Regions from separate parts of the Homo sapiens genome. Here region 2 is linked to region 1. Evidence: promoter capture Hi-C in 16 types of primary human blood cells and fetal thymus (Javierre and others, 2016). All regions are on one chromosome and are shown on one strand. The core of a region is centred on a gene start or on the middle of the fragment in contact, and the rest is flanking DNA. Distances in the headings are between cores, read along the strand shown.

The links. The method cuts DNA at HindIII sites, captures the fragments that hold promoters and counts their contacts. A CHiCAGO score of 5 or more calls a contact.
Region 2: a contact is called between a fragment that was not itself captured here and the fragment with the promoter of DSEL in region 1, in 1 of 17 cell types (fetal thymus). The highest score is 5.1, in fetal thymus.

Annotation. Positions count from the first base shown.
Region 1 is chr18:67,513,460-67,520,641 of GRCh38, reverse strand. DSEL (dermatan sulfate epimerase like) reads left to right here and starts at 3,922. Exons shown (of 2, transcript NM_032160.3): 1 at 3,922-4,281; 2 at 5,150-7,182. The coding sequence starts at 6,034. It overlaps DSEL-AS1 (DSEL antisense RNA 1), which reads right to left and starts at 4,096. Exons shown (of 5, transcript NR_033921.1): 1 at 3,893-4,096. The HindIII fragment of the contact is 6,208 bases long and covers 2,864-7,182 here.
Region 2 is chr18:68,203,258-68,210,439 of GRCh38, reverse strand. No RefSeq gene overlaps it. Among named protein-coding and RNA genes, the nearest start is that of LINC01912, 58 kb to the left of the region's middle. The HindIII fragment of the contact is 3,234 bases long and covers 1,213-4,446 here.

The DNA.
Region 1 (7,182 bases), core at 2,673-5,172:
GTAGACTTATGGGGAAACTTTTTCCCCCAGAATTTGGCTTTGGTATTTTTAAGTTTTAATAAATCTACTTACTGTCATACTGACTCTTGTGCAGCTGGATAAACAAACTCAAGAAACACTCTTAGCCACATCTTCATTAGCAACTCTGCAGGCAAAATCCCTGTCATTTTGAGATGTTTTGTATTCAAAGCAATTGCGGAAAAAAAAAAAGTATTTCCAGACTCTACTGCCTGCTTTAAACTTGTGGTTTTGTCTTTATTATTGGTGTGGCCTATTACTGCTGGCCAACTGGGCAATAAAATTTGCAGCTTAAGTTTGGTGTCTGTTTCTAAACAGTTACAGATGCTATATCCCTAACCTCTGGGGCAGACACTAGTTCTAATACTGCTAGTGGATCAATATAATATACATCTGGCCCTGGTAAGTGGTTCGAGAAATCTGCATCTGAGCTTTCACGGCCAAAGCTGTAGCAAAGGTGGATTATGCTATGAGAAGAATAACAAAGCCGTCTCCATATTCAAATGGCTATGCTGCTTGAAAGCCCAGGTATTGGAGACCTGTGCATAGGAGTTGCTGAATGCACAGCAACTAGTTCTTGAATGTCTTGGCCCCATTTATTTAAAAACCACCAGAATAACAGATCATGGACAAATGTGATTTTAGATCAGGGACTTTATGTAGTGTCTAGGCTTGTTTTATGGCTTGTACTTTATCGTTCTCAGGCTCAGAGCTTGAATTTGCCTATCTTAACATATACAATTAATGCAGAAATCCTCTTGAAAATGTTGTATGACTTTCCAGTCTCATGTTTCACTTGAATTAAGTCACCTCAAGGCATAGCTCCAATTATGGGTTGTGTGGTAAGAGGCTTCTCAGCACAGTCAGGAGAAAGAGTGTGTGACTCTGCTTAGAATGTAGTAACCCACTTTAGACCTTTATGACTTTTTCTCTTCTGTCATAAAATGGGGGCGATAATTCATGTTAAACATTCACCAAACATTTTTCAAAAAGTGCCAGGCTCTGGGATAGATGTTGAGAAATAAAATTTTAAAAGAAAAATAAAAGAGAGAGAGAGGAAGGAAGAAAGGAAGGAAAGGAGCGCGAGAAAGGCTTCTGTTCTGGAGAATCTACTCTAGAAAGCATTGTTTCTGTTGTAAGATAGGTGGTTGTGGGTAGGTTGAAAGATAGGCAAATAAAGAAAACAGATTTTCATAAGTACTTTGAAATCACGGAGTAAAATCTCATGTAGATTTAAGATCCTTTTATATAGAGAGAAATCCCCAGAGCAATAGACTGCACTGTTCTTCACTTACATTAAAATAAGATACTGCTCCAGGATTCTGAATTTAGCAGCTGTTGGTACATGTGTCTCTTGCCACACTCATAAAGGTTTTTAATGTACAATAACATAGCATATAGCTCATCCCTTCTATGGTCGGATGCATTATTTATAATTAACTAACTTTGTACCATCTTCATGTGTGGAAGGAGCAATAATTGGAGCTATCCATTTTTAGTTCACAGAAAACAAGACTCTCTTCATTTTTGACAGTGCCATTTACCTACCACCCTTTCTGCCAATGATTTGAATTGTTCAGTTGTGGCTCTTGTTTTATTTTAATGCATTCACATTTTACCACTATGCAAAGATGTCTGTTCAAAATGAATTAGTCTGAAAGCCCATCTGAGAATGCTGGGAGGCTAGCTGCATCCCCACTGCTTCAGCACAGATGCATGGGGCAGAGCTGAAAGGCCACAATGTCGGTACCTGAATTCATTCTTCTCTAAAGTGAAAATGATCATACTGATATTTCAAAATCTGAAAACAACATTGGAAGAATATTTGCCTGGCAGATGTTCGCGCATTAATTCTCTCTGACTCACCTTGCCCTCGCATCATGAGACACTTTGAATCCATAGAAATAACCCTGCCCCACACTTTGTTCTGAGAAATGTTCTGTACATCTAGTAGCTGTGTTTACTAACCCTAAATTCTAGGCTCCCCTCTGCAAACAGATAGGAATCTCTGGAGTCAGCTCCCCGTTTCCCCCAACTCTACTCTCTCATAAATGTGGTTGGAGGCCATGGGTCCTCTTCCTCTATCAGGGGCCATGTAGAGGCACAATCCAGATTTTACAGGAAGTTGTGTCAGAAGAGGATCCTTGTTTGGGAATAAACCTCAGTGGAGGAGACGAGGCTCTGTATCAGCCCAATTGTTCGAGGTTCAACTCATTTCAAAAGCAGATATAGTACTTACAAAGGGGACTTGAGTGCTACTCATGACTTGAAGGAGTTTTGAATAGGGTACAGGAGTCAACCAGTTGAAATAGAAAGCAGAAAATAAACAACCTAAACGGCCGAATATAGGTACAAATGATATAGTTCTGGAGTAATACATTCTGGCTAGGGAAACTTAGGAGTTATTTACAGAAGAATGTAAGCATCTGAGTTGAGACCTGGATGATCAGATAATTTCAACAGTCAGAAGAATTTTAACTAGTAAGTGGGGTGGTTGGGTAAAGGACACTGTGAGGGAAAGAATGGAATAAGCATAGTTACTGAAGCACCCAAGCAAAAGCAAGTGTGGCTATTTGGACTGGGCTAGGGGTTACTACGGGGCCAAAACAGAAGAGTGATGAGGAGTTAGAGGCCACATTTCACCTCAAAGTTAAATGATTTGAAATTTATTCTGCTAGCAGTCGTCTACTGTTTGATTTTCAGCAGCAAATGATCTAAGCAAGACATTTATTTTTAAAATGTTAAAATATATCTTATTAAATATTACCAAAATAGTATGGGAAATGAAGAGACTGAATGTGTTACTAATCCCCAACTGAGAATGGAATTGTTCATTTGTGAAGCTTGATATTTCCCTGTATTTTTATTACTACTAAGCTATTATTTTTTACATTTGAGGTCAGAGCTTGGGTTGGTTTATGCCAAAGTGTCATCTCAGCTATCTGTGAGAAGCTCCATGTGTGGAGTGCAACAGGAGTCCCAGCCTGCTCTAGGATTTCCACGACCTGGCACTGCACTCACATGTCGTAGTAGCCGGGGCACACTGCCTTCTCCTGTCTGCATGTAGGTCTTTACCGAATACCAGGTCCCATTTTTAAATAAGAGGCTCCTTCTACTTGTTTGTCCCATGCTTCCCCTATTTATACTGCCTGAGAAATTGTTTTCCATCAGTAAAGCTGATTAGTCTTTTCTGTTTTCCCTTGATCTTTGTTAGCATCTGGGCTACAGAAGTTGTCCTCCTATATTAATCTGGGTATTTCGGTTTTGCTTTTCCAAAGGACAGCAAGCTCAGCCAGGCTGCCTCTCAGTTCCAAGGGAGTGCTCATTCCCTCCTTCCCCAGCCCTTGCTCTTTCCAAAAGGATGATTTCTGTCGTCCCAGGGCTTATCCCCTCCCACTCCAGCTCCTCCCATCATTTGAGTCAATCCCACAGCCCCCACTATGGCTCTATTATATAGTTGTCGTCTTCCCATAACCAAAAGGTTTTAACGCCAGCCTGGCAGCGTCTTTAGACTCTCGCACTCCCAAACTGTCCCCTCCTCCAGCTCGACTCCTCCGGGAGCGCGCGGCCACCGCTGCAAGCCCAGAACACAAACGCCTAGAGCTTCCTCCGCTTAGAAACCCGGGGCGCTTGGCCCCGCCTCACCTGCTTTCGGCCCCGCCCCGCCCGCCGCCGGCCTGCTCACGGCTCCTCCCGTCCTCCCCGAAGCCCCGCCTCTGACCCCGCCCTGTCCTGTCTCCGTCCCGCCCCACGCCCGCCAGCCAGCGTCGCTGTCTCTCGCCTTCCCTGAGGCCCCGCCTTCAGCCCCGCCTTCAACCCCGCCCCGTCCTGCCTCCGCCCCGCCCCCGCTTGCCGGCCCGCGTCGCCGTCTCACCCTCCCCGGGCTGCGCGGCCGGAGCTGGCACAGAGGATCCTCGGCCGCGGCGACATCACCGCCTGGGCACGCGGGCGCTGCTCTGGATACGGCGCCACCGAGAGAACCCGCCGCCCGCGGGTCTCTGTCCTGCGGTCCGTGGTTGCCCCCACAAGCGTCCGGCGTTTCCTGAGGGCGGGCGTGTCCGGGCCGTGCGGGTCGCGGGGACCGAGCGCGGCTGAGGAGACCGAGCTGGGGCAGCGCCTGCCGTAGCGCGGGAGACGACGCGGGGGTCTTGCGGAGCCCCGCGGGAGCCTGGCCCGCCGTGCAGAGCAGTTTTCTGGAACTCTCCACCTCCGTCTCCCTTGGGGCCCAGTGCGGCGCCGAGCCCCCGTCGGGATCTGCCTGAGGTAAGCGGACTTGGTGGCTCAGGGGTCTCTCGCCATCCTGCCTCACTCAGCCCCAGAGCGGGGAGCGGAGAATGGGGGCGGCAGGGTCGGAGGACGCCAGTGAAAAAATGCAACAGGCGGGGCGGATCAGGAAACTCCTAGCCTGAATGTTTCCTACAGAGGGGAGACTTGTCCAAGACTGAAACTTGCTTAGGTTCTTCCAGCCGCGGACGGGCACGGAGAGGCGTCTTTCGACACCGGGGTCCGAGCTCCCTCTGGCGGCTCCACCTGAGGACAGGGACTCGGCCACAGGTGAGCGCCGAGCGCGGAGCTCCCGCCCCTCGGCTTGGCGCCTGGTCACGATTCGCGGTTACCCCGCCGAGAAAAGTGACTGGTCCGAGTAGTTCTCATTAGGAAGATACCTTCTGATCCCATGAACTCTAAACCTTCCCCCGGAATTAAAAAAAAAAAAAAAAAAAAAGATCTTTTCAACTTTCAGTTTTTTGTCCCTCGGTCCTTGGGAACAAGAAATAACAAGGATAGCAGGACTCATCTTTGTGTAAACTGCATTTGAATACAAACATTTTTTAAGTGACTGAAGCCACGTTAGTGGCGTTAAACTATAGATATTGTCGGGAGAGTTCTATCTTGTATATTTTGTATTGTTAGTTGCTTGTCTTCTGCTGACGGTCACTGGTTTCCAAATAAGTGCGTGTAAATGGATAAGAAAAAAATCACTTGCCCTAGCTTAGGTTGCAGATAATATGAGATTTTACTGTGATTCTAAAATTTCTATTAAGTGATTGCAGAATGTTTAAGTCATCAGTTTATATTCATTCTCAGCATACCTGAAGCCTCAGAGAATTTTTATTTTGTCCCCCATCCCCAGAAAAGTGTCATGAAAAAAGAGCAGAAGAGAGACCTCACTGTTGCTGAAAGGGGAATTTTCTTTCCCCGTTGGCGGTTACTTCATGATCGGACGAGAAGTATCTAGGTGACTGAAGATATTCCATTTTTATGTTTGTACACATGAAGCTGATAAAAGAAGATGTGAACATGATTTCTCTTTGTCATAATAGGCTGATGAGTAAGTAAGCCTGAAAAATATTTGAAATGAAGGCAAGAATTTTGAATTTTTAAAAACCAACTAAGACTTTGATCACTTGTTGAGGATGTTTCTCTCTCATAAATGAAAGAAAAACGTATTCACAAGACAAGAAGTATAAAAAGTTGAGAGGAATGACAACTGAGTCCACTCACTCGAAGAATGTCAGTACTTCATCATCTTCTTTGGGCAAACATACACAAATGCATCATACATGTGTGGTGAGCTTATCACCAGTGATGGTTTTCTGTGCTAGAAATGACTCTTAATTTGAATTTTGGAGTGCTTTTTCTCTTTTTTTACAATGTGTGTTCCAACTCTTTGTGTTAAATAGATTTAAGTAAAGGAGGTAAATGCTAAATTCATAGTGTTTTTTACCTGTATCACTTCCCTGTGTATTATGGAAAAATTAGAGATTTTAACGTTATTCAAAGTTTTACTGGAAGCAAAACTGTGCCAGGGACAGAGATATACAATTTAAGTTTTCTCTTTTTGGCAACTGCACTTGCTTAAAATGTACTGAATGTCAGCTGGATTTCACAGCATATCAGATTTACAGTCTTTGTCTTATCAAGGCCTTTACTGTATGTTTTATACTAACCAGATGGGAAACACATTGAGCATCATATCTGACATGTATGCCTAAGGGAGGAGCTCCCCCATGGATCATGGCGTTAATGTTTACAGGACATTTACTATTCTTAGCATTATTGATGTTTGCTTTCTCTACTTTTGAGGAATCTGTGAGCAATTATTCCGAATGGGCAGTTTTCACAGATGATATAGATCAGTTTAAAACACAGAAAGTGCAAGATTTCAGACCCAACCAAAAGCTGAAGAAAAGTATGCTTCATCCAAGTTTATATTTTGATGCTGGAGAAATCCAAGCAATGAGACAAAAGTCTCGTGCAAGCCATTTGCATCTTTTTAGAGCTATCAGAAGTGCAGTGACAGTTATGCTGTCCAACCCAACATACTACCTACCTCCACCAAAGCATGCTGATTTTGCTGCCAAGTGGAATGAAATTTATGGTAACAATCTGCCTCCTTTAGCATTGTACTGTTTGTTATGCCCAGAAGACAAAGTTGCCTTTGAATTTGTCTTGGAATATATGGACAGGATGGTTGGCTACAAAGACTGGCTAGTAGAGAATGCACCAGGAGATGAGGTTCCAATTGGCCATTCCTTAACAGGTTTTGCCACTGCCTTTGACTTTTTATATAACTTATTAGATAATCATCGAAGACAAAAATACCTGGAAAAAATATGGGTTATTACTGAGGAAATGTACGAGTATTCCAAGGTCCGCTCATGGGGCAAACAGCTTCTCCATAACCACCAAGCCACTAATATGATAGCATTACTCACAGGGGCCTTGGTGACTGGAGTAGATAAAGGATCTAAAGCAAATATATGGAAACAGGCTGTAGTGGATGTCATGGAAAAGACAATGTTTCTATTGAATCATATTGTTGATGGTTCTTTGGATGAAGGTGTGGCCTATGGAAGCTACACAGCTAAATCCGTCACACAGTATGTTTTTCTGGCCCAGCGCCATTTTAATATCAACAACTTGGATAATAACTGGTTAAAGATGCACTTTTGGTTCTATTATGCCACCCTTTTACCTGGCTTCCAAAGAACTGTGGGTATAGCAGATTCCAATTATAATTGGTTTTATGGTCCAGAAAGCCAGCTAGTTTTCTTGGATAAGTTCATCTTAAAGAATGGAGCTGGAAATTGGTTAGCTCAGCAAATTAGAAAGCACCGACCTAAAGATGGACCGATGGTTCCTTCAACTGCCCAAAGGTGGAGT
Region 2 (7,182 bases), core at 1,580-4,079, 690 kb before region 1:
TATTTCACTTATTCTTGTTGCTATATAGTATCCATAGTGTGTGTATGTGTGTGTATATATATATATAAAAATATATATATAAAAATATATATAAAAATATATATATAAAAATATATATATAAATATATATATAAAAATATATATATAAATATATATAAAAATATATATATAAATATATATAAAAATATATATATAAATATATATAAATATATATATATAAATATATATATAAATATATATATAAATATATATATAAATATATATAAATATATATATAAATATATATATATAAATATATATAAATATATATATAAATATATATATAAATATATATATAAATATATATATAAATATATATATATAAATATATATAAATATATATATAAATATATATATAAATATATGTAAATATATATATATGAATATATATATAAATATATATAAATAAATATATATATATCACATTTTCTTCATCCAATCAACCATTGATGTACACTCAGTTTGATTCCGTGATTTTGCTCTTAGGAATACTTTGGTGATAAACATACAAATTCAGTTTTCATTTTGATAAAATGATTTCTTTTCCTTTGAATAGATGCCCAGTAGAAATGGAATAGAGAACCCAGAAATAAAGCCAAATACATATTACCAACTGATCTTTGATACTATTGACAAAAAGATTCCCTATTAAATAAGTGGTGGTAGGAAAACTGTCTAGCCATATGCAGAAGAACAAGACTGAACCCCTACCTCCTACCATGTAAAAATTAACTCAATATGAATGAAAGCCTTAAATGTAACTATAAGACCTGAAACTATGTAAGAATCCTAGAAAAAATATAGGAAAATCTCTTCTGGACATTGACCTAGGCAAATAATTTATGACTAAGACCTCAAAATCAAATACAACCAAAACAAAAATAGACAGATGGGACTAAAACTGAAGAGCTTTTGCATCACAAAGCAAACAGTAAAAAAGTTAACAACCTCCAGAATGGGAGAAAACATTTGCAAATATGTATCTCACAAAGGACTAATGTCTAGAATCAATTAGTAACTCGAACAAGTCAACAAGAAAAAAAAGTAATCCCAGTAAAAAATGGGCAAAGGACATGAACAGACTCTTATCAAAAGAAGACATAAGAGTATTTTGAAAATCTAAAGCCATTTCCTGATTCTATCACAGCCAGACCAGTCCCACTCCATTAAGCTTGCCTGCTATTCATGAAATGTGGTGCTTGTAGCACTCTAGCCAAAATGAATTTCTCACAACTTTCCTTCTTCTTCACATCACTGACCCCTCATTTGGTGTGGGCTAGATGTTGAGGGTTATGAAGAAAAAGAGTATTTGGTGTTTATTTTTATAATTGGAAGAATGAGTGAGCCAAATAAGTTTGCTGACCATGCATAGGAAAAGATTCAGATATTGGGTGATGGTAATGTCCACATCACTTCCTATAACATTTAATTTCCATCAGGAGAAAAAGTTATGGTTTCAATTTGATGGGAATAATTATGTTAAAATAAAACAGATGATATTGTTTATGAATTAGTTTCTTATTCCATTAACAAAATCTCTACCTACTATACTGCTTTACTACTTATTTTGATGGCTGGAACACCTCAGGAAAGATTAATTATATTGAAGCAATAAACTTTTTACATCTACTTATATTTAATTAACTGGAACATTCTAAGTTGTATCATATTACTAAAAAGTATGTTTCTTTGTAGCAATTTAGCTTAAAAAATATATATAGCCATTCCTACAGTCTGGATATTTGTCTTCCCAAACCTCATATTGGAATTTGATCCCCAGTGTTGGAGGTGGGGCCTAATGGTTGAGTGATGGGAACAAATCTCTCACGAAGAGATTAATACCCTCCTGGGTGGGGGTGAGTGAGTTTTCACTCTATTAGTTCTCAAGAGTTAGTTGTTTAAAAAGAGCTTGCCACTGCTCCCCTCCCATCTTCCTTGATCCCTCTCTGGCCATGTGATCTCTACACCTGCTGGCTTCCCTTCACCTTCTGCCATGAGTGGAAGCAGCCTGGGGCCATCATCAGAAGCAAATGCTGGTTCCATGCTTCTTTTACAGCCCGAAGAACTATGATCAAAATAAATCCTGCCTTACATATTCCTTTATAGCAACACAAAATGGACTAATACAGCCATCAAGACATAGTTTTTACTAAAAAAAATAAAAATTGTGTAATAACATATCTTAATTTTCCTAATACATCTGAACTTCTTGTTTTTCCAAATATACTAAGGAAAATATAAAAATGCAATACTTCACTGAACATGAAAACAGAATAACTTTAACATTTTGTGTTATATAATAGTCCCCCTTATTTAAAATGAAAAGTTTAAACATAGTAGATTATTAAAATGTTTTATTTTAAATTGAAAGAAGTGTGAATTTCAAAATAATTTTCAGGCTATAATTAAAGATGGAGATTGCAATGTATAATGTTAAATAGTTACATTATGAAGTTGATCCTTTGTTTTCATTATTTTTACTCACTAGAACCAATCTCATATTGCCTTATGGAATTACTTGCATGTCTAAAATATAATGTAGATGGCCTTTCTTATTAACATAAAACAGCTTGATTTATAATGAATGTATAGCGAGTTAAGAAGCATTACTAATTTTTCTTTTGGCAAATTAATAGTTTTGACATTTTCTATAAATGTCACTCCATGAGGAAATCATTAGAAGTATGATTAGTGAGTAATTTATTTGATTTAAACTCTTTTTAAAAATCCAGTCATGTATTTGAAGCCTGTACAGTAATCAGAATTATTTTTCCTAAAACAAATACATGTTAAAAAGTGTGAATCTATTTACGGTATGCTTGAATATTTTAAACCTATACACAGAGAGAGTATACATACATTTGGAGAATTAGTGTAGAACGAAGTCCCTTAATTTAATGATATAAATATAATTTATGAGACTTTTGCTTATGATTTAGACCCATTGTTTAACTTGCATTATGTTTTTCTTATGTGCTGTACTTCAGAAGTTTAATGGAAATATGATAAAATATAAAATTTTTGCAGTAGAGAGCATTTAAAAATATTTCTCTATGAGTTCAATCGTTTTATTTTTTTGTTTCCACCAATGAGTGGGAATCTGTTATTAAGAAGATTCTCACTGTAACACCACAGTCCATCTAAAATTGTGACATAGCGTAAAGTCTCAGAGCTCCATAGTACTCTAAAAAATGTTTACTTCAATGTTTATATTTTAACAATTGATACAATTTAGCAAATTGGTAAAGTAATAAATGATAAAATATTAAATGTGCAAAGATGATAGAGTTCTAAACTTTTATATACTTAATAGCATAGCCTCAAAATAAGTAAAGCAAACATTGACAAGATGACAGGGTTAATTTAAAAATTCCTGTGTGGCCTAGCATATTGGCTGGTCATGAAATATTTATTTCATTTATTCTAAATCATAGAATTGTAGCCAGTCACAAATATTCCTTTAAATTTTGCATATTTATAACTGATTTTATTGTGCCCTTTATTATTGAAGGATAGCCTAGCTGAATCTAAAATCCTTGACTTACATTTCTCTTTCTTTGACTATTTTGTAAATATTATTTTCTTGCTTTCTGGCATAAAATGTTGCTGTCAGAAATCTGATGACAATCTGATTTTCTTACTCTTAGGAGAAACTTGGGAAGATTTACTGAGTCCGTGTCTTACTGTTGAATATCATGGGCTGATTTCTCATTTACACATTCTGCCTTCTTGTATGTAGGCTCAATTATTTTCAGCAAAGTTTTAGATAATTATTCTCTTAAGTGCATATTGTGTCCTATTTCTCTGCTTTTCTGTTTTGGGGACTCCACTTACTAATATCCCATTTAGAACCAGCTTCGTGGGTGTCCAATGAATGCAATTGTGCAGAAACCCATGCTTAGAAGGACTTCATGCTTGGCATTTGGCTGTCCTTGATGTCTTAATGATTCTATATTTTACTATGTATTGAATAAGTGAAGTCAGACCAGACAATGGAGAATGTGTAGGGCTCTTGAGGCCTCAGTTGACTCCCTGGGATGGGTTCTTGGCCATCAGATTCTCCATCCTTCTGTTCCCCCTGCACAGCCCAGCCATCTCTCCCCACACACCAGTGACTGCTGCGGTCCCTGCATTTGGCAGGGGACTGATCAGACAGAGCAGGATCAGGGAAAGTCAGCATCAGACACATGCATCTCTGGATCTCAGAGTGTGGCAGGAGCAGAAACACCATGGGGCATTGGACAGGCGACTGGCTGGGTAAGCCTCTTGCCAACCCTTCCAAGTTACCCAGTGAGTCTGGCAAGGAGGTAGCATACTCTTGCATTAACCCCTCTGCTGCCAGTTAGAAGGACTGGTTATGGGAAAAAGTGATGCCAAGTTGGATTTTCCCTACCTATCTAGGAAGCTTATTGGTTCAGCGGCTGCAAAGCGGGGGATCTCACCCAATGAACCACTATCGACAAGGTGCCTGATGGCACTGTGAGAGAGGCCAGGCACTGTGAGAGTCTGCACTGACCTCACCAGAACCCCCATGACCAGGGGAGCATGACATTAAGTAGCAAATAAAAAACACCATCACTGGTTGAGAAAGAGACCTCAAGAGAAATCATAAAACCTTCATGTTATATTACCTTTAACGGTAATTTTTTCCTACTTTGTGAACAAGGGTCGCATATTTTCATTTCGTATTGGGCCCCACAGATCATGTAGCCGGTCCTAATACAACCTTCTTTGGCCAGCTTCTACATCGATTTTCACCCTGAAGGCTTTTCGTTTATTTTTTGCTCATGTTTATTTCCTCTACTTTTCTATTCTCTTTTAATCACCGCACTTTTTGTGTTATAAGTTTGGTCTTTATATGCTTTTTATTTTTTATTTTTTTAATTTTTTTTATTATACTTTAAGTTTTAGGGTACATGTGCACATTGTGCAGGTTAGTTACATACGTATACATGTGCCATGCTGGTGTGCTGCACCCACTAACTCATCATCTAGCATAAGGTATATCTCCCAATGCTATCCCTCCCCCCTCCCCCCACCCCACAACAGTCCACAGAGCGTGATGTTCCCCTTCCTGTGTCCATATGATCTCATTGTTCAATTCCCACCTATGAGTGAGAATATGCGGTGTTTGGTTTTTTGTTCTTGCGACAGTTTACTGAGAATGATGGTTTCCAATTTCATCCATGTCCCTACAAAGGACATGAACTCATCATTTTTTATGGCTGCATAGTATTCCATGGTGTATATGTGCCACATTTTCTTAATCCAGTCTATCATTGTTGGACATTTGGGTTGGTTCCAAGTCTTTGCTATTGTGAATAATGCCGCAATAAACATACATGTGCATGTGTCTTTATAGCAGCATGATTTATAGTCCTTTATATGCTTTTTAGTTTCCACTTATGATATATTGAAATTTCTCATTTTATAATTTTTCTCTGAGTATATCAGTTTTCCTTTAAACAAATTCTTCTTGTCTGATTTTCTCAACTCTGAGAGCTTTTGTTTTTGTTTGTTATTTGTGTTATTTTTCATTTCTCTTAGCTTTTTGGTAAAATTAGTTAAACATTTCATCTGTTTGGTTTCACATTCTTCTTGTATGTTTTTATCAGCTATAGGAGGGTTATATGACAATTGTTTATCTCTTCTCATGCACTACTAGGTGCCTTTACCTGGGCAGAAAGGAAAATGAGAGAGCCTCCTGTTTCAGTGTTCATGGCTCAAGTGCTCTGTCCTCTTGTTATAAAAGACTCTAAATTTGGTCTTTCTGAGCAGTCTGTTCTTTTTCTGTCAGCCCTCAGCCAGCTTCAAGGAGACTTGTCCAAGCCCTTTGTTTCCAAGAGAACCACAGTTCCTACTTTCCAAGGCACTGCTTACATTTAGATATTTTATTTTGCTGATGCACTACTTTTGAGATCTTCTTCCTCTGACCTTCTCACCCTCTACCATTTGAAGATTTTGTCTTTTTTATTCCTAGTTTACCTGCTCTGTTAAATCTGGATCTTACCAGAAAAAGATTTTCTTCAACTTAATATTTGGTTTATTGAAAGGGGATATATAGCAGATGGCTCTCAAAGTCAGATTGCATGGATTAAAAAATTTTTAAAAGGAACGGAACACCAGCATATCCATTTAATCATTTAAAATGTAATAAGCATTTAAAAATACTATTACAAACTACACTCAACGACTGGTCACTTTTACAATACAAGAATACCTATGGTCTTGTTCTTTAGTCAGGGAGTGGGGAATCATTCCCATCTGCTAAAATTATCCTGGATAATTGCAAAGTAAGTAGTGTTACTAACATCAAGTTCCTTACAATTTTAAGTCGTTCTTCAGATTTGACTTACCTCTTCATTATTCAATATGATCTCTATCTTTGTGCAGACAATAAAATATTCTCAGCTTGTCTCCTAACTTTCTGGCCATGATCTAAGTACAAAGTATACAACCATGTTGAAGTTTTTGCTGCTTTCCAAAACAAGAAATAAAATGAAGATAAATAACTGTTTGAGGATTATATTTTTTCTAAACAATAGACCAGCATCTTCACTGCTCTGTTGACTTGTAACAGAACTGACTGTGGCACTGAAAAGCACAGAAGGAAGAAAGATGAAGCAATTTCTATTTAAGGGCAACAAAGAGAGGAAGAAACTCCGAGTTTCCATCTAGATGGTGTGGTTCTTTATGGCAGCCCTTTTGTGTAGTAAGGGAGATATGTAAATCTAGTGTTTTTAAGTCAAAGCAAAATTTTATTCAGAAGGCACATTTTTATAAAATGTGGTAACAGATATAATATTTTATGTCTCAAAGTTGAACAATGTATTAACTCTTCAAAAATGAATTAAAAAATTGCAGTAGTCTTATTTATTTCCTGTTCATAAGCTCTAGTTTTTTTAACTTATATTTTTAACTGACACATAATTATTATACAGAGTTATGGAGTATAGTGATATTGTGATATTGTGTACAGTGATCAGATCAGGGCAATTAACATATTCATCATCTCACACTTTTATTATTTTTTGATTAGAAATATTTAATATCCTCTTGCTAACTACTTGAATCTATCTTTTCTGGCCTTAAACTATTTTATATTAATATTTTATTAATGCAAATTAATATAAGCTTCTATAT